Linked DNA regions of Homo sapiens: region 1 is linked to region 2. Evidence: promoter capture Hi-C in human tissues and cell types (Jung and others, 2019). All regions are on one chromosome and are shown on one strand. The core of a region is centred on a gene start or on the middle of the fragment in contact, and the rest is flanking DNA. Distances in the headings are between cores, read along the strand shown.

The links. Contacts are between HindIII fragments. The study calls those that stand out against the background at their distance.
Region 1: a contact is called between the fragment with the promoter of RIN1 here and the fragment with the promoter of PC in region 2, in 1 of the 25 tissues and cell types used here (bladder).

The regions. Positions count from the first base shown.
Region 1 is chr11:66,334,984-66,337,683 of GRCh38, reverse strand. It overlaps RIN1 (Ras and Rab interactor 1), which reads left to right and starts at 1,250. Exons shown (of 10, transcript NM_004292.3): 1 at 1,250-1,367; 2 at 1,526-1,706; 3 at 1,808-1,922; 4 at 2,002-2,074; 5 at 2,186-2,277; 6 at 2,433-2,700. The coding sequence starts at 1,282. BRMS1 (BRMS1 transcriptional repressor and anoikis regulator) reads left to right here. Exons shown (of 10, transcript NM_015399.4): 10 at 1-345. RefSeq lists an enhancer at 1-770. The HindIII fragment of the contact is 7,337 bases long and covers 1-2,700 here.
Region 2 is chr11:66,956,967-66,959,666 of GRCh38, reverse strand. PC (pyruvate carboxylase) reads left to right here and starts at 1,284. Exons shown (of 23, transcript NM_001040716.2): 1 at 1,284-1,345. RefSeq lists silencers at 847-1,206, 1,527-1,626 and enhancers at 1,277-1,326, 2,490-2,700. The HindIII fragment of the contact is 6,851 bases long and covers 337-2,700 here.

The DNA.
Region 1 (2,700 bases), core at 1-2,500, 620 kb after region 2:
GTGGCCGTGGAGCTGACCTGACCAGGCAAGGCTGCTGTCTCCATCCCTGAGCCGCCTGCCACCTCCCACTCCTGAAGATCCATCTCTTGGGGCTCCCCTGACAGAGAAGACAGCCGAAGTCAAAGCCACATCCTCTTGCTGATGTTGGATGCAGGCTGTCCGGCCTCAGGGCCAGGGAGCCAGTTTCCACTGTGCGGGAACTCTGAGTCAGACGTGATTATCTGGGGGTCTGTCCACCCTGGCTGGATCTGGAGGCAAGATGCCAGGCCCCCCAGGTGTTCTCAGGGCAGTTCTTGGTGTCTGCTTCTCAGATTCCAAGGACTGGAATTAAAACCTTTCCTGGGACTCTGGCGTGCCCTGTGTGTGTGTGTGATTTACCTTGCAAGAGAATCAGGGCTCCCGTGGGGAGCACCTGAACCAGGCCGACTTCTAGGGTGCCTGCAGATTGCCACTCCTCACACTACCCAGCAGAGGCTAGAGCACTGTGCGTGGGGCCAGGCTGGGGAGGGGGAGGTGGGCGCTGGGCTGCCTGGCGCTGGGCAGAGTCAACATATGGCACCGGGAGAGTGCCTCGGCGGGGAGGGTGGATGCGTGTGCTTGGAGCCTGGGTCATGTCTGCACCTGTCCCAGTTGCCTGGCAGATTGGCAAGGCAGGCTGGCAGAGCCTGCGTGCGTGGGAGGCAGCCGGCAGCACCGCCATGTGCTGACGACCTCACAGCCAGACTCCCCCTGGTTAGCACTGAGTGTCAGAACCACCCCCAGAACCTCAGTTAAGCAAATAGGTTGGTTTCCATGGAGACATGGCATATTTTCTCCATGGCAACCTAAAATCCTAAAACCCAGGTTCAGGAATGAGTCATCTATGGACAGTAGAGGGTGCTCTCCCACAAGGCTGACCTGAGGCCAGGGGCAGATGAGCAACTGACCACAGAGCCAAAGGTGCCCCCAGAGCATGGCTGGGGCCTGTGGGGACTGAGGCCGCTTAACCACTTCCCGCCCACGTGTGCAATGTGAGTAGCTGGTGAGGCTGCAGGAGGCCGTGTGTGGAGGTGGCATCCCCCAGCTGGGGCCCTCAGAGCAGGGCTAGCATGGAGGGGACCCCTGACCCCCAAAGCAGGGTCCAGAACAGAGGAGGCGGGCACTGGCCAGGCAGGGTGGACACACAAGAGTTAACTGGCGGGTGTGACAGGCGGACCGCCCTCAGGAAGTGTTACTCACTGGGGATGTGCGTGCCTTGCCTTGGGACTGGATTCTCTTCCTGAAGCGAAGGAGCTCCCAGCCATGGAAAGCCCTGGAGAGTCAGGCGCGGGCTCTCCTGGAGCCCCCAGCCCGTCCAGCTTCACTACTGGGCACCTGGCGAGAGAAAAGTTAGTGAAGTTGGCAGGGCAGCCAGGTGGGGCAGGGAGGGGCTGCGAGAGGAGGGCCTATCCGGGGATAGAGAAAGTGGGAAACCCGGGAGTGGGGAAGAGGAGAGCAAGGGTCCCAGCCCCTGGCTCCCTGCTCAGATCTGGGTGCCTGCCCCCAGGCCAGCCCAGGACCCACTGTATGACGTGCCCAATGCCAGCGGCGGGCAGGCAGGCGGGCCGCAGCGGCCGGGGCGCGTTGTGAGCCTGCGGGAGCGCCTGCTGCTCACCCGGCCCGTGTGGCTGCAGCTGCAAGCCAACGCAGCGGCCGCACTGCACATGCTGAGGACCGAGCCCCCGGGGGTGAGTCTTGCCCCACACTCCAGGGACTGGCCAGCCAGGGGTGGGAGGGAGAGGGATGGGACGCCAAGGTCCTGAGCTGCCTGAGCCCTATCCACTTGCAGACGTTCCTCGTGCGGAAATCTAACACCCGCCAGTGCCAGGCCCTGTGCATGCGGTTGCCTGAAGCCAGTGGCCCCTCCTTCGTCTCCAGCCACTACATCCTGGAGAGCCCTGGCGGTGAGGGGCTGGCCTGGCGGGAAGGGGCTGGAAGCAGGGAGGTTCCCCAGAGAAGCACCTCACTTCCCTCCTCTCTCAGGCGTCTCCTTGGAGGGCTCGGAGCTCATGTTCCCAGACCTAGTCCAGCTCATCTGTGCCTACTGCCACACCCGGTGAGTCTGCCCGCAGGGTGCCTGGTGTCCACGGGCCCTGCTCCTTGGGACAGCCCATCCTTCCCGCCCTCTTCGGCCCTCACTCCCTTCTGCTCCCCTCTCTGGCCTCAGGGACATCCTTCTCCTCCCGCTGCAGCTCCCCAGAGCCATCCACCACGCAGCCACTCACAAAGAGCTGGAGGCCATCTCCCATCTGGGCATTGGTAAGGGCTTCCTGCCACCCATTGCACAGATGAACAAGCTGAGGCCGAGGGGAAGGCAAGGCTCGCAGCACACCGCCCGAAGCCCCTGCCTTGCCTTGGTTGGGAAACTTCCCCTAACCAGTCCCGGAGGCCCCAGTCGGTTTCTTGTTCCCTAGAGTTCTGGAGCTCCTCCCTCAACATCAAGGCTCAGCGGGGCCCGGCTGGAGGCCCAGTGTTGCCCCAGCTGAAGGCCCGGTCCCCTCAAGAGCTGGACCAGGGCACCGGAGCCGCCTTGTGCTTCTTCAACCCCCTGTTCCCGGGGGACCTAGGGCCCACCAAGCGGGAGAAATTCAAGAGAAGCTTCAAAGTGCGCGTGTCCACAGAGACCTCCAGCCCCCTGTCTCCACCTGCCGTGCCACCTCCCCCCGTCCCCGTGCTGCCAGG
Region 2 (2,700 bases), core at 35-2,534:
ACCTCAGGCATTTGGGAAGGGCTGCCCCCACAGATCATTCACAAGTAAATTCTTGCTGGCCTCCCATAAACAAGGACAGGTCAATTGTAGCTTCAGGTCTACAATCTAAGTCTAGCTCCTAAAAATTCCACAATAAGAATGTCATTACAAGCTTATTTTCCCAGGTGCAGAACAAAGTCAAAACTACCTACTCAGAGACATCTGCATAACTGACTCTTCCTTTACTCTCTTTTTCTCTTCAGACATTCATCTCATCTTACGTAGATTTACCGGGCATTAGCTAAAGTCCCATAGGAATGTAACTATTGTCCTAATCGCCTACTTGCCCTTCTTCCTACATGCCTTCCCCTCATTCCCCCTTTAAGGAAATGCATAAATACTAAACCTCCCGAAAACCTCTTCGGAAAAACAACCACGGATGTGTCTGTGGTTCGTGTTTTTCCCGAGCACGCCCTCAAACTGGATTAATAAGCCTCGATGACAGAGACTTATGCCTCAGTCACTTGTTCCACTTGTCAAAGCTTTCCTCTTTGACAAGTGTCTTGGGTCTTGTCAAGTGTCTTGTGTCTCAAACAAGGCTTCCAAACCCCCTAGGTCCTGAGTAGCTTCGCTCTGCAGATGACAAAACCGAGACTCAGAGGTTAAGTTGCTTGCCCAAGGTCACACAGACGTACTGTAGACCCCCATCATCATCTACGCAGCTGTTAAAGGACATAGTCATGTAACCCGTGTGGCACAAGCGCCTTCTCCTTCCTCCTGCCCTTCGCTAACGTTAGCTTTTCCTGCGACCTCTTCTCCGCTAGCCAGCGCGTATCTGCGTCTAGCCGGGATGCCTGAGCCCCAGTGCGAACTGTTGTGCTTGCAGCTTCGGGAGACACGTGCTACTCGGGTGAATGAATCGAACGTCCCCACCCCCGCCGACAGCCAATAACTGCGAGCCACAGCCCGGCCACTTCCGCCTATTGCGGGCGTCGGCTAGGGTCCGGCGGCCCACGTGAGGCTCCGGAGACAAGGGAGTAGGCGGTGGTGCGCCAGGGGCGGGCTCTCCCAGCCTCGCCACTTATCCAGGCGCTCGCCGGGGACGGGAGGGGCGGGGCTGACGTGGGGCGCCAAGGCTTAAACGTGACGGACAGGCGGGCACAGGGAGGAGTCCAGAGCCTAGGGGCGAGGAGTGACGGAGAACACTGCCCAATAACGGGAGGGGTTGGGCTGTCTGGGCCAATAGGAAGTCCGTAAGGCGGGGCCGGGACTGCAGCAAGTTCGGTTGCACGGAGACCGCAGCTGTTCTCTGTCAGTGGAGGCAGCAGCGGTAGAGGCGGCGGCGAGGACTGGCGACGGCGAGGAGGTGAGTGTCCGCCGCGCTCCGCACGGTCCTCTTCCCGCGGCGGGTCGGAGCGGGTGGACGTGCGCCGGCACCGCTGCGAGGGACGCTTATGTAAGGGTCGCGCGCGCAAAGGCGGCGCGGGCTCCGCGAGTGACGGCTGGAGGAGACAGCGACGGGCTGTGCGCGGTGCGCGACGCGACGCAGCGGACGGCGCCCCTCCCCCTCGCGCGGGGGCTCGGCCGGCTGGACCCGCCCCCGGACCCGCCCCCGGCTGCAGCCCCCGAGCGCCCCTCCGCAGCGTCCGCCTGCGGGCTGCCTCATTCTTGCTCTCGGGCCCATTTTGCAGATGGAGAAACTGACTAAAGCGCCTCGCGCGAGGTCCCTGAGGGTTCGAACCCAAGTCTGTCAGGATCGGGAGCCCAAGTTGTCCCCATCGTACTGGATGTGGCTCAGCTCTGCAGGAAGCCGCGGCGTGTAAGGCGAGGGCTTTCCTTGTTCCTTGCTCTCGCACTCCGCCTCCCGTAGGATCCTCTACTTTGTTTCAGACGGGGAAGCTCCAGGCGCCCAGACGCAGTGATTCGCCCAAGGCCGCTCATTCAGGAGGTGGGGCTGGGCTCAGCCCCTTATTTCTCCAGCTTTTAGTAGTTTACAAAGCGCATCAGAGTCGGAAGCCAAGTCCCTAGGTCCCTGGCAACTTTGAGATTCTTTTGTTTTCTTTTCTTTTTTAGACAGGGTCTTGCTGTCACCCACCCAGGCTGGAGTGCAGTGGCGCGATCTCGGCTCACTGCAGTCTCGACCTCCCGGGCTCAAGCGACCCTCCTGCCACAGTCCCCCAGTGCTGGGACTACAGGCGGGCGCCACCACGCCTAGCTAATTTTTGTATTTTTTGGTAGAGACGAGGTTCCGTCATGTTGCCCAGGCTGGTCTCGAACTCCTACGCTCAAGCGAGCGGCCTGCCCTGGCTTCCCAAAGTGCTGAGATTACAGGCGTGCCTCGTCTGAAATTCTAAAAAATCAGATTGTGTCTTTATTTTGTGAGAAGAGGTAGGCCTGGGCTCCTTACCCGTTCTCCAGCTGAGAAAACAGGCTCAGAGAAGTACCAACACTTGCTGATGACAACCAGAACCTCCAGAGTGCCTGCCATCTGCCTCCCTATTGCTCCCGTACCCACTGCCACCATCAGCCCTGGCTGGCCTCCCCCAAGGCACCCTTTCCCTGTATGTGATGCAAACACTTGTGCTGGGGGTGGATGTGCTCAGCATTTCTCTCACTTGCAGCTACAGCTTCCTGCCTGCAGGCTCTCCTTAACTGTTGAACTCTTAATCACATTCTTTTGCACACCTACAGTGTTCCTATCCCTACACTGGGCCGAGAGAC